Regions from separate parts of the Homo sapiens genome. Here all the other regions are linked to region 4. Evidence: promoter capture Hi-C in 16 types of primary human blood cells and fetal thymus (Javierre and others, 2016). All regions are on one chromosome and are shown on one strand. Each heading gives the region's core, a stretch centred on a gene start or on the middle of the fragment in contact. The rest is flanking DNA. Distances are from core to core; before and after follow the strand shown. Region 1 overlaps AGK (acylglycerol kinase). Region 2 overlaps AGK-DT (AGK divergent transcript). Region 3 overlaps WEE2-AS1 (WEE2 antisense RNA 1). Region 4 holds the start of BRAF (B-Raf proto-oncogene, serine/threonine kinase). Region 5 overlaps SSBP1 (single stranded DNA binding protein 1).

Region 1 (2,700 bases), core at 97-2,596, 720 kb after region 4:
TTAGTGGTGGTGTGTGTTTCTGATGGGAATATAGATTGGAACATCCTGTCTCAGCAATTTGGCATAGTATACATAAAGTGTCTAAAATATATGCATACCTTCTGCCCTATTAACTGTATTTCTAGGAATTTATCCTACTGGAATAACCTGATGAATATATAATGTAGGCAGTCCTTTTTTACATAATGGAAATCTGAAAAACACTGGTGAAAGTGGATATGTGAATGCTAAAAAAAAAAAAATAGATTCTGTTCCAGAGGAATTTAAAAGAGAAAGATAAAATGTCTAATTATACATCTCCTTTATACCAAGTCTTTAATAATATGTATTCCGAGTATTTTATTCATGTTCTTTACCATTGTTCTTTTCTCTGATGACTGAGTACCACTGAATGGATTGAGTTCAGTGAGTATGTGAGTGCGCTCAAGATTAGCCACACTCACAATGCCAAGTGCTTTTTATCTTTGTGCCTATTTAAAAGTATACGATACTGTGCCGCTTATCACTAGTAGCAGCAAATTCATTTGTTTCGTTTTTGCACAGTTCTTTATAAAAATAAAAGCAAATGCAATACAATAAAGGCAGTGTAGCTGCCGTGTAATAGCTCAAAATGTTCACTTATTAAAAGCAGCACATTCAGTGTATGAAAGAAGCTGTAGGAGTATAGAATGTGTGAAAATTAGGATCTCTTATACAACTATGCTCACTGTATAATAGTAAAATATTTGCAATGAACTAATCAGACTGAATAAATTTTGGTACATTTATTAAAAGTCATATCTATTTTATATATGTATTATTTTCTATCTATTGACATGGGAAAAATAGGTGAAAAGATTTGCAACATAGTTCCATTTTTCTTTAAAAAGGAAATACCCCCACTTATAAGTGAGTTTTGTGAATGATGGAGGTAAAGCTCCAATTTTATGTTCTTTCCAAATAGAAAGCCAGTTGTCCAAGCGCCATTTATTGAAATCTCCATTTTCCCCCATTGATCTTCAATAAACCTCTGCCATACATCATGTCTATATACATGTAAATGTTTCTAGTCTCTTTCTTCTATTGTTGTTCCATTTTCTCATATTTATACTAATACTCTGCTTCTCTTATTATAGTTTTATAATAAGTTCTATGTTTTTCTCTTTTTACACAGTCTCTTGGCTATTCTTAGCTCATTTGAGTTCTATAAATATTTTAGAATGTTTATTTTATTAAATTCCACATAAAAATGTTATAATATTGATCTCACTGCATTGTACCCATAGATCAATTTGGAGAGAAATGACATTTCTACAATATTGACTCCTCTAGCATATGAACGGGGTATATCTCTTCATTTATTTAGGTCTTCAATGTCTTTCAATGAAGTTTTATAGTTTTCTCTGGAATATCCTGTCTTTTGCTGGATATATTCCCAGTTATCTTAATTTTTATGCTATTCTAAATAATATCTATTAAAATTTCATTTTCTACCTGATTTAGTAGATGGACATATAATTGATTTTTATATCAATGCTGAATCAGCAACCTAATTAAATTATTATTAATTATTCTAACTTTCTTTCAATGAATTCTTTCAAATTTTCTACAGATTTAGTCATGGCCAATGCAAATAGTGCAAGGTTTGTTTTCTCTCTTCAAATACTTATCCTTACAATCCTTCATTTTACTTAGAGCACTGGATAGGACCTCAGTACATGGTTAAATAGAAGTAGCAGTAACAGGAGTCCCCATCGTCTTTCTTATTTCTGATTTAGAGAGAAAGTCTTCATTGCTTCATGCTTGTATTTAATGTGCTTTCTTTTTTTATAGACACCCTTTATCAGATTAAGGCAGTTCCTTTCTATTCCCAGTTTGCTAAGCATTTTTATCTTTCATGTTAAATATCTTAGATATTTAATTTTATCAAGTACTCTTCCAGCATCTATTGAGATAATAAAGTTTCCTCATTTAATCTGTCAAAGCAATAAAATGAATTGATTTTTGAATGTTAATGTGAGACTTTTGGCCAAGATGTAGCAAAAAGCACCAGCTTTATACCTTAAACACCTTAAAAATTGGACAAAATCTTTGAAACAACTATATGAGACATTGGTATGAGACAAGCAGCATAGGACAGTGAGTCCAGAGAGCAAGAAGTTGAACACAGTGAGCCTGATGCTTGCCCGAGGTGACTGCTGGAGAGAGGCCACAGCCTGCGGAGAGGGAGCCCACACAGAGCCCATGCCCTACCTCAGTTGAGGGGTCTTTGAGAATTTGAGAAATCAAGGCAGCTAGAATTGCAAGGCAGGATACAAGAGAGCCCCATGGAGAGGAGAGCCGCACCCAGAACCAAGCTAGAGGTTTACGGAGGTGTCCTCTGGAATCTTCAGCTGAGTACTGACAGGTGCATGCATGTGAGAAACCACCACCCGAGATAGAGGTTGAGTTACCTACCAGTGAGCAGGCGGGACAGTCTCAGGAGAGTCAGTCCTCTCACAAAGCCAGGAATAGTTCGTGTTCAAACCAATTAGAGTAGAAAATCCTCTTCAGACATGGGGCATTGGGTAGTGTCCTCAGAAAGGTATTGCCTCAGTAGTGAGTCAAAATTAATTCTAGACTAAAGGCTGCCCTCTTCCCTGTTAACAAAGCTAAAGGCTCACCTCCAAAGAACCACAGTTTCTTTCTAGGTAACTTAATTGTGCCTCCAGAACAAAGCTT
Region 2 (2,700 bases), core at 196-2,695, 610 kb after region 4:
CAAAAAGAAAAAAAAAAAAAAAAAGGAAGAAAAGAAAGAAAAGAAAAGAAAAGAAAAGAAATAACATTGGAACAACTGAAGAGAGGCATATGGGAAAAAGAACCTCAACCCCTACCTCACACAGTTCACAAATATTAACTTAAAATAGGTAATAGACCTAACCAAAAAATAAAAATAAAAATTATAAAACTTCTGCAAGAAAAAAAAAATCGGAGAAATCGGAATGATATTGCATTAAGCAAAAAACTCTTAAATGGGCCCTACAAATATGAACTATAAAAGAAAAAAAATCAATAAATTGTACTTCACCAAATGTAAAGCTTTTGCTTTTCAAAAAGCACTGTTATAAAAATAAAGCACAACATAGACTGGAAGAAAATATTTGCAAAATATATCTGAAAGGGATTTGTATCTAAAATATATAAAGAACTTTAACAATTCAATAAGAAGAATTTTTTAAATGGGCAAAACATTTCAACAGATGCTTTGTCAATATCTTCCACAGATGATTAGATATATTAGGATGTCTTCAGTTTTAAAACTAACATACCAAGTGCTGGTGAGGATGTGGAGCCATTGGAAGTCTCATATCCTGCTTCCAGGAATGTAAAGGAGTGCAACCAGTTTGGAAACTAGTTTGACAGTGTCTTAAGAAATTAAACACACTTACATAAAACCCAGCCATCACTTTCCTATGTATTTACCCAAAAGAAATAAAAACATAAACATATATCACAAAAAGACTTGTATACAAATGTTGAATGCACCTTTGTTTATAATGGCAAAAAGCCTGAAACAACCTAAATGTCTGTCAACAGGTGAATGAATGAAAAAAATTGCAGTAAACCCATGCAATGGGCTACTAGTCATCAATAAGAGCAAACTACTGAAGCACACAATGGATAAATCTTAAAAAAAAAAAAAACCGTGTTGAGAGAAAAGCCAGAAACAAAAGGTTCTATATTGTACAATTCCATTTATGTAAAACTCTAAAAGATACAAATTAACATACAGTGGTAGAAAGAAGATTAGTGATTGGCTGGTGTTGGGGTGGACTGAGGGAATGTAGGAACTGACTGGAAAAGAATAAGAGAACACTTGGGTGGCAATGGAAATGTCTGTATCTTCATTGTGGCCAGTATAGGAACATACGCATTTATCAAAAGTCATCAATCTGCACACTAAAAATGGGTGCATTTCGTTGTATGTAAATGTTATGCCAATAAGATTTATTTTAAAAATTGTAGTGGGAATGCAAGGAGAAGAAAGGGGGTAATTTTGGTATATTTCTATGTTAGAGTGGGCAGATTTTGAGTAGGTTTATATGCTAAGAGGAAAAGACAGTGGAGATGGAGGGAGAAAATACCAGAGTGAGGAAAGGACTGATGAGGCAGATTTCTCGGGGACGGGAAGATGGGGGTGCCATCCCAAGCACGGGTGGATGGATGAGCTGTGGATGGGAGGAGTGAACATAAGCTCCCTGAGTCTGCAGCAGAGGAAAGTGGTTGTACTATTAAGTTTGAACAAAGACAAATGTAATTTTGTATGTGGGAGGGCAGAAAGCAAAGGAAGTTCATGGCTCATTCAATCATTCAACCTTTATTTATTTTATGCCAGGCACTTTATAAATAAAGATATGGATATTCTGTAAGAAAGAATAATACTGTTTCTGCTCTCATATAATTTAGAATACAGTAGATGGGGGGCATTAAACAATTAAAGAACTAAATACATAATTACAGATTATTATGAATGCCATACAGGTTAAGGAATCTATTAAAGAGGGCAACAGAAGGAACCTAATTTAAACAGATGGCTCAGGGAAGGTCTCTTGAGTGAAGCCACCTTTCAGCTGAGAGGAGGAAGGTGAGAAGGAGTTAGGTGATAAGTGAATGGAATGGCTTCAGTGAAGACCTTAAGGTTGGACAGATTTGGGTACATTTTGATACAGAACAATAATTATATGTGAGTTTTAAGAGATTAATATAAAAAATGAAACCATAGAAAACTCCAAGAAAATATAAATAAATTTTGATCACTAGATAGAGGACTCTCCAAGAATATGCCTGAGATTTAACTACATAAAATTCAAGAGGTTTTTTTCTTTACTTTTATTTCGAAACATATTGTAAACCAAGTGCTAAATATTTGCAACAAATAAGTCAAAGGATTACCATCCTTACTACATAAAGAGCATGTATCAAACTGACAAGAAAAGCATTAAAACATCAACAGAATCCAGTTAGTAGATCATCCTTCTAAAATGATTGATCCTTTAGTCATTTAGGTAAGTTTATAGAATTTTAAAAATAAAAATAAACATAAAAAGCAAGTTGGGAAAATAGAATAAAAATACAAGTAAAAGACAGGCAAATTTCTATGGAAGAGGAAAATGGCTGGATAGATGAAAAAATAGTTTTACTCATAACCAAAGAAATTTAAACTGAAAAAATGAAATACTATTTTCCCAGCAATTAAATAAGTAGACATTGGGCAAAACAATACTTATTGATGGCAAGGGTGCTATGAGAGGCACTATCCAGTGAAGATAGTGGGAACATAAATTGGTTATAAGCTTTTAATTAAAAAATTTGGAAAAATGCATCTGGAACCTCAAATATATTTCCTCTGATTCATTAATTCTAGTTTTAAAAACTAACCCTACATTTATAATAAATGACGTCAATTATTTAAATTTTT
Region 3 (2,700 bases), core at 65-2,564, 780 kb after region 4:
GGGAACTTCGCTTTCCCCCTGTGCAGCAACTCCTGACACATTAAGAAAAAAATTCAAATTTTTTTTAAAAAGTCAAATATGGAGTATTTTAAACATGATTGAAATATATTAATTTATTTCCCCAAATTCATCCAAAAACAATTTATTGAACACCTACTATATGTTAGGCATTAAGGGGGAAACCCTCCCCTTTTCCTCTTATTGCCACAGATTACATGGGTCCCCCTTTTGACACATCATCTCAACTATCACCTGAAGCTTTATGCTGGGATGGATGCCTGTGGGATTAACATATACTGAAGCAGAGATGAAATTTTTCATAATGGAAAGAGGCTAAAAATGAAGAAAAGGCTACAATGTGACCAAAAAAATAGTGAGGCCATGGGCCAGAGGCCATAGGTAGCACCTCTAGGGATTCCCTTGGGTCATCCAGATCAGCAACTATGCAATTCTTATTATTTAGTTGTCCAAATTTGGGATATCTTTTTTGTACTCATTGTTACACCTTTCTTATTCTGAAGACTTAGCCACAATCATTATCTTCTGAGTAACAATACATGAAAAGGTGAATGGTGCAAGTTTCTAACAGTATTACTGCCGATAACATAAGACCTCAACCATTGCAATGGCATAGCTGCCTCCCTAGGCAAACAATGTAGTCATAAATAAGGGTAATCAAGAATTATAGCAAGGGAGAGAGAAAAAGCAGCAGGTGATAGAAAAAAAAAAAGAAAACCTGGTCTACTTGGGTAATACCTAATAAACCAGCCCCTGTGCCCTGTCTACAGGACAATAATATAGCCAGTGTTTTGAGTCAGTCCTGTTTTACTGAGAGCAAAGCCAGCCTCTAGCTGCCTGGAGAGGCAGGAATGACAAGCCATGGCATGTGAGGGGAAATTCATCAACACCAAGGCTATAGAAAAGAAATCTATCATCTGGCTTGCTGATTTGTAAACAAGACACTCCTAGGCTGAGAATCCCAGTTGATAATAATTGCATTACTGGTAACCTATGAGTTCTCCTTTTTCTTTGATGATTCTGTTTTTACTGGCCCCTGTAGGATACTGAATCTCTGACAAAGGTGGGCAGTGAGTTACTGCATTTTGTGAGCAATATTTTACCCCCTGTTGAATTATCTGGGATAGTTTGTGTGGGTGGGAGGCTGTAGGGAAGGGCCAAGGAAGGATGAATTGGTGTGCCCACCTACAAAGGGCTGGAGCATGAGAAGGCTTTGAGCTGAAAAAACACTTTGAAGTCTCCCCAGTTAGTTTTCATTTGGATTACCCTCCTCAGGAGTTCTGGCTGGGAATGGGGAAGGAATTAGGAGAAAGTGGTGGAGAGATCTGTGAAAAGAGGGAAATGGAAGAGGGGTGACAGGTAGCAAAGACTATAAAGAGAAGGGAAATAACATTTGTTTCAAACTCATCAAGCTGGCCTTGGTTCCTGTCTCTCTTTGGGCCCATGTTTATCATGTAAATAATTCCCTATTTGCAGTCCCTCTGAAGCCTCCTTGAGGGGCATGAGTGTATCATTTTCCTTTTTCATGGACTGCCTCTCACATAGTTTTCTTCTATAATGTGATATCAGTGAGGCCTTTTTCCTTTGATATACCTATACATTGTGTAATGATTACCAAAAATTTACCACACCCATATGCACCCATGCTGTACATCAGGTCCCCAGAATTGTTCATCTTATACCTGAAAGTGTGTACCCTTTGATCAGCATCTCCCCATTTCCCCTGCCTTTCCAGATCCTGGTAACCACCATTCTACTCCCTCCCTCTAGGAGATCAACTGTTTTTGATTCCACATATAAGTAAGATCATGTAGTATCTGTCTTTCTGTGCCTGGCTTATTTCACTTAATATCCCCCTGGTTCATCCATGTTATCACAAATGGCAGCCTTTCCTTTTTTATGACTGAGTAATATTCTATTGTGTGTGTGTGTGTGTGTGTGTGTGTGTGTGTGTGTGTATTCACCACATTTTCTTTATTCATCTGTCCATGGCTATTTAGGTGGTTTCCATATCTTGGCTGTTGAGGATAATGCTGCAATGAATATGGGTGTGTTGGTATTTTTTTGAGATAGTGATTTTATTTCCTTTGGCTATATAACTGGAAGAGAAGAGGGACAGCTTGATTGTATAATAGTTGTTTTTTTCTTCAAAGAGTTTTCCATCCTTCTCATAGGGGCTTCTCTGAGAAAGAAATTAAATAATGTGTACTAAAGATATTAAAAAGCATTTTACAATATAAGGCATTTTTGGCAGAAGCCATTGCTGTTTTCCAGTGATCAATATCTGTTTCTATGGTTTGTTGATCTTTCTAGCCTTTCTTTTGTCAGTTTAAATTTTTGTTCAATTCCCTAGAAGCTTTAACTGCTAACAGCTAACAGCTGCAGGAGGGAGATGCCTGAATTAGGGCAGGTGTGTTTGGCACAGAGCTAAGCTGTGTCTCTGTCAGGGATACAAACTCCAGTCAAGATATGTTAGAGGCTGTTTAAGGATCATTATGATAGCCAGGTGATGCTAAATTGTAATTACCTGCTGTTAGCTATTGGGTGGGTGGGGAGGAGAAGGGAGGAGAGGGTGATATTTATAAATGGCAGGTGTAAGGAGTGAAAATAATTTCTTTTCAATATTAGCTTATTCCCAAATTGGCTAATGGGTATTTTTAAAGCCATGCTAAATTAAAGGAA
Region 4 (2,700 bases), core at 176-2,675:
GAAAAGGAAAAAAATAGGACAAAAAGGAGGACAACACTAAGAAATCAATCAGACCTATAAAAATGGGTAGGAATAAAGAGGTGTGAATGCACAATGGACGACTAGCCAAAAAGTGCCAGTAGTGCAAGCGCGAAAAGAGCCAAGTGAAACCTGATGGAATCTTGACAGCTTCTGGGCTCAGAAAACAAGTAGCTCCAAAGTGTCCAGGAGGATTTGTGAAGATAACAACAGACAACAATGTTAGGGAGTGGTGAGATCAAGTACAGAGCCTCAAGAGGACCAGGGTAAGAGAAGTGCAAAAATGCTCTTAAGTGGGAGCTGGGGTTAGAAGGCAGGCAGGTCCGACAACTGGAAAATGAGCGGGCGGTAGATGGGAATAGAATGGGGGTTACCAATCAGCGACAGAGCGCTGACAAACATTAGGAACAGAGGACCAGAGACCAGAAAAGGCATCGGAAACTGCGATTTAGGATTGAAAAAGTAAAGACTAAATCAAAATAATTTGCTGGGTAAAACAGGTGAAGAGAAATCCCCAAATAGAAAAGTGAAAAAGGGCAGCGGACTGAGAAGGGGGGCAGTCCGGGAGAGGAGAGAGGAAATGATGAGCCCCATCATCCCCACGACCATGTAAGAATTACACGCGACAGTAACTCGGGCTGTTGTCTCAGCCCCAGCAACTAACCTATATCCTCCACGTCGAGGCCGCCGCCGCCCCCACCCCACAGAGATGCAGAGCTGGATACTTCAGCCAATCGTGACCTTCTCGGACCAACCCTGAGTTTCGCCCCCTATTGATAGCCTCCCGCTCAACCACCGCTGCCCCAATCCCCACATCTGGGGTGGGGGCCAGGGAAACCCCCCGGGCCATTGTGTGTGTTTACGTAGGAAGGCGCTGCATGACGGAGAGGGACACGGGGGCGATGCCCACCTCCCAGCCCGCGGAGCTGGCCCGAGAAGGTGGCTGAGGGCATCAAGCCCCCACCGCCGCCTCTTTCCAAAATAAACACCAGCCAGCCGCCGAGCCCGGAGTCGGGAGGGCGGCAGGGTGGCGCCAGCACTCACCTCCTCCGGAATGGCAGGGTCCGCAGCCGAAGAGGCCGCGGCGCCGGCGCCGGCGCCGGCCTCGGGCTCCATGTCCCCGTTGAACAGAGCCTGGCCCGGCTCCGCGCCGCCACCACCGCCACCGCTCAGCGCCGCCATCTTATAACCGAGAGCCGGGGCCCGAGCGGCCGCTGTCGGGCGGGGAGGGGGAAGGGAGGCGGAGAGCTGGGGGAGGCGGAGGCGGAGGCGGAGGCGGAGGAGCGGGGGGCGCGGGGGGCGCGGGGAGGAGCGGCCCGGGCGGCGCCGCGGGCGGAGGGCGCCTGGGCCACCTCAGGTACCGGCCCGCGGCCCCGGGCGCAGCCGAGCCTGAGGGGATTGGGGGAAGGACGCTAGGCGGGGGTGCGGGGGGGAGCGGGGGAAGGGGGCGGAGACGACGAGAAGTCGCCGCGGCAACGGCGTCACCCGCGTGTCACGGTCGTGACGTCACCCCGGTGCGTGACGTAATCTGAGGCGCGCCTTCGCGCCGTCGTCCGGGGAGGGTTTTTTCCCTTCTAACCACCCGCGCTCTCACACTTTGCCTCCGCTCCGCCGTTTCCATGGCTCCGGTTTCCTACTTTCCTCTTGTCTCCTCCGTCCTCAGCCTGTTCTGTAATGTGGGATTTACTAGAAGAGCAGGGCTGGTGTTCGAGGAGGAGAAGTTGAAATCCTAGAGGGAGGAAGGCGGGGAAGCCAATACTACTTGCTATTTCCACTGCAATGAACGTCTCTGTGTCATCAAAATAAGAACTTCAACCCCAAGGTTGAAACAGCCAAGCAGAATTTGATGGAAATATATTTAGGAACAGCTAAATTAGCAGTGCGACGCGTGTTTTCTTTTCATTGAAGAATTCAGCCAGTTAAAACGAGTCTAAATGGAAGTCTGAAAGCTTTTTCTTCATTGTTGAGGAATAAAATATTTCGTGTATTTTTCGTTTTCCAGATTCATTCATTTAACAAATATCAGTTGAGCACTTTCCATGCCGTAGGGCCTGTACAAGGCACATAGCATTCTAGACATCTGAAGCATCAAAACTAATCATTTTTATTTTGAAGAAAATCACTCAAAATATTTTATGTACTTTGTGCCTTTCATGAACAGAATATTCCAAGCATTCTCTGCAAAATACGCATGAAAACAATTGGGAGAGAAGAGGTCAATTATCTTTGAGAAGCCCAATTACAGAATGAAATTCAATTCATTATTAAAAATACATGGATCTAATAAAGAATAAATAATTGGAAAAGAAAAGTTTAAGGAAGAGAGAAACGGGAATGAGAAACAATTACTGTGGGCTCCCAATGGCCTGGAGTGAATCACCAAAGTAACCTAAACATGAAGTCATGAAAAACTAAGTGGATTCTGCCTTTTAGTACTTCCCATCATGGGGGAAGTCACCAGCGACCTCCTTACTGTATTTTGGATGATTCAAGAAATAGAAAGGTGTCCTACTGACTTCTGAAACAGGGTGTCTTCATATTGATTAGGGTCACCGTAAGCCTGGGAGCTGATGCTTACTCTCAGGTAAAGGATGCTGTGTGAGGCTGCTTGATGAATGAGAATACTAACATTCTTCTGCATTGAAAAAATATAACCTATAAGATGAACATTGTAGGCCGGGC
Region 5 (2,700 bases), core at 201-2,700, 820 kb after region 4:
AAATAGTCTTAGTAATTAACTCAGGGTAATATTATACTAAACTAACTACAAATCCATATTTTGAATTTTAATCATCTAAGTTTCTAAGGTCATAGAAAATAATTGATAAATAAGTGAAAATCAAGTCTGTTAGGGACTCCAAAATCAAAGGTCAAGGAAAATGATACATTGGAAATTATTCCTAGAGATTTAAATGTTGCCACTAAATTTCCCTTTGAACTGTTTTGTTTTATTTTTTAACTTCCGTAAGAGAAATAGCTGACAGATGAAAACATTGTCTGTTTTACCTAGATGTTACCAAGTCTGTTTGGACACTCTGTTTCAGTACTCCTAATCCTGAACCTTGAGAAGTGGTAGCAAAAATTAGCTTATATATGATTATATATTTCATCCTTGTCATATACTCAGTACCACCCTGACCTGACTCTTATAAAGCATATTAAGATCTCAACTAAAAACTGTACATTTTATTTATATCAGGTCTCGAATTTATTTGGAAGGGAAAATAGACTATGGTGAATACATGGATAAAAATAATGTGAGGCGACAAGCAACAACAATCATAGCTGGTAAGAAGCTTGTGAAAATAGCTGTTTTTTTCTTTTTCTCCTTTTCTTTTTTAAAAGCTTGGCTACACTGTAACTAACTAGGGTTAAGAGTACCAGTACTTATGAGTTAAGGCAACTCACTAGAAGATGTCCATAACTCTTATTTCTCTACTTGCTAAGAGTTTGTACATTTATCCCTTCCTTTAAAAAATTATTTTTATACTTACAGTTTTAGTCACAAGTAACTTTTGAATAAAGCCTAAAACTGAATTATCCATCCCAGTACTTATTGTTGAGAATTACAAAAACTCTGAATGTATTGTCTTTTGGAAGGATCTAGCCCTAACCAGGAAGAAGCGTATGCCAAGATAAGAATTACACTAATGTGAGTGTGCAGATTTATTCGGAACCTCTTTGGTACTTAGTATGTGAAATTTCTATTTGAAATTAAGATTTTTTTAATTTTATTTTTTTTGAGCCAGAATCTCACTCTGTCACCCAGGCTGGAGTGCAATGGCACAATCTCGGCTCATTGCAACCTCTGTCTCCTGGATTCAAGTGATTCTCCTGCCTCAGCCTCCTGAGTAGCTAGGATTATAGGTGCGTGCCACACCACCTGGCTAATTTTTGTAATTTTCGTAGAGGCGGGGTTTCACCATGTTGGTCAGGCTGGTCTTGAACTCCTGACCTCAGGTGATCCATCCACCTCGGCCTCCCAAAGTTGTGAGATTACAGGCATGAGCCACTGTGCCCAGCCAAGAAGTTTTTAATTTTCTCTTTTTTTGTTTTTGTTTTGAGACAGGGTCTCCCTCTGTCAACCAGGCTGGAGTGCAATGGTGTGATCACAGCTTACTGCAGCCTCTACCTCCCCAGGCTCAGGTGATCTTCCCACCTCAGCCTTCTCCCAAGTAGCTGGGACAACAGGTGTACACCATCATGCCTGGCTAATTTGTCAATTTTTTTGTAGAGATGAGGTTTCACCATGTTGCCCAGGCTGGTCTCAAACTGCTGGGCTCAAATGATCCTCCCACCTTAGCCTCCCCAAATACTGGAATTACAGGCATGAGCCATTATGCCCGGCCTAATATTCTCTTTAAACAAAATACAGTACAACATAGAAAAGATGTACACGTAAAGGTTAAAGAAGATTAAGAAGATATCCCTTAGGAAAGAGTTTTTAAACTTTTGAAAATGCTATAAGAATTTTGAAAATAATATACCCCTCTGGATGTCTGCAAGCGACATTAAGAAATTTTTTTCAATACAAAATTGTGTTATTTTTAAATGTATCAATGGAATCTAAATAGCATAGCAATGTGATACCTACTATCCTGTAAAAAAATACCAGTTCAGCATTTGGAAATTTTCCATTATTCTTTTTTCTTTGAACTTGTTTTACTGTTTTTATTTTCCCCTCAGAAGTGTATCTTAATAGTATATGGTATAGTTAAGAACTTTTTATTACCCTGTTTGTAACAAAAATGCATGCATAAAAGAAACTTTAAAATATTTAAAAGAATTCTATGACAAATTCTTCTCAATTGACTTATCATTAAAGTTGTTTTTAGTACCTAATTGATCAAAACAATTTTAATGTATTTAAATTATATTGGAAATATGTCTTTAAATGAGATAGATGGTGCTTTTTTCACTTCTTGAGTAAATTGCTAAAATTAGACATTGTGAATTTTGTGCTTTTGTTTGCTTTTATGGACATAAATACTAAGAAAGCTTTTTAAAATAAATACATGGCAATAAACTAAATTTTACTATATTAATGTTTCTGTGTTTATGAACTTCTGAGATATGCCCAAATTAGATTTTTTTTTTTTTTTTTTTTTTTTGAGACAGCGTCTCACTCTGTTGCCCCGGCTAGAGTACAGTGACACGATCCTGGCTCACTGCAACCTTCGCCTCCCGGGTTCAAGCGATTCTCCTGCCTCAGCCTCCTGAGTAGCTGGGACTACAGGCACGCGCCACCACGCCCAGCTAATTTTTGTATTTGTAGTAGAGATGGGGTTTCACCATATTGGCCAGGCTGGTCTCGAACTCCTGACCTCGTGATCTGCCCACTTCAGCCTCCCAAAGTGCTGGGATTACAGGCGTGAGCCACCGTGCCCGGCTAGATAATATTTTTTAAAAATTGATTTTT

What was found. Contacts are between HindIII fragments. The CHiCAGO score rates a contact against its expected background, and 5 or more counts as called.
Region 1: a contact is called between a fragment that was not itself captured here and the fragment with the promoter of BRAF in region 4, in 2 of 17 cell types (megakaryocytes and endothelial precursors). The highest score is 8.6, in megakaryocytes.
Region 2: a contact is called between a fragment that was not itself captured here and the fragment with the promoter of BRAF in region 4, in 1 of 17 cell types (endothelial precursors). The highest score is 7.0, in endothelial precursors.
Region 3: a contact is called between a fragment that was not itself captured here and the fragment with the promoter of BRAF in region 4, in 1 of 17 cell types (total CD8 T cells). The highest score is 5.4, in total CD8 T cells.
Region 5: a contact is called between a fragment that was not itself captured here and the fragment with the promoter of BRAF in region 4, in 3 of 17 cell types (megakaryocytes, total B cells and naive CD4 T cells). The highest score is 7.7, in megakaryocytes.

What each region holds. Positions count from the first base shown.
Region 1 is chr7:141,643,866-141,646,565 of GRCh38, forward strand. All of the region lies in intron 13 of AGK (acylglycerol kinase), which reads left to right. Among named protein-coding and RNA genes, the nearest start is that of DENND11, 57 kb to the right of the region's middle. The HindIII fragment of the contact is 2,698 bases long and covers 1-2,695 here.
Region 2 is chr7:141,537,476-141,540,175 of GRCh38, forward strand. All of the region lies in intron 1 of AGK-DT (AGK divergent transcript), which reads right to left. Among named protein-coding and RNA genes, the nearest start is that of AGK-DT, 13 kb to the right of the region's middle. The HindIII fragment of the contact is 2,255 bases long and covers 319-2,573 here.
Region 3 is chr7:141,705,726-141,708,425 of GRCh38, forward strand. WEE2-AS1 (WEE2 antisense RNA 1) reads right to left here. Exons shown (of 4, transcript NR_199841.1): 4 at 1-32. It overlaps WEE2 (WEE2 oocyte meiosis inhibiting kinase), which reads left to right and starts at 2,628. Exons shown (of 12, transcript NM_001105558.1): 1 at 2,628-2,700. The HindIII fragment of the contact is 2,116 bases long and covers 257-2,372 here.
Region 4 is chr7:140,923,504-140,926,203 of GRCh38, forward strand. BRAF (B-Raf proto-oncogene, serine/threonine kinase) reads right to left here and starts at 1,426. Exons shown (of 18, transcript NM_004333.6): 1 at 1,063-1,426. The coding sequence starts at 1,200. It overlaps LOC105375536 (a long non-coding RNA gene), which reads left to right and starts at 1,589. Exons shown (of 5, transcript XR_002956518.2): 1 at 1,589-2,700. RefSeq lists a silencer at 1,249-1,318. The HindIII fragment of the contact is 2,638 bases long and covers 1-1,965 here.
Region 5 is chr7:141,745,016-141,747,715 of GRCh38, forward strand. SSBP1 (single stranded DNA binding protein 1) reads left to right here. Exons shown (of 7, transcript NM_003143.3): 6 at 481-569. Among named protein-coding and RNA genes, the nearest start is that of SSBP1, 8.0 kb to the left of the region's middle. RefSeq lists a silencer at 2,395-2,537. The HindIII fragment of the contact is 1,653 bases long and covers 625-2,277 here.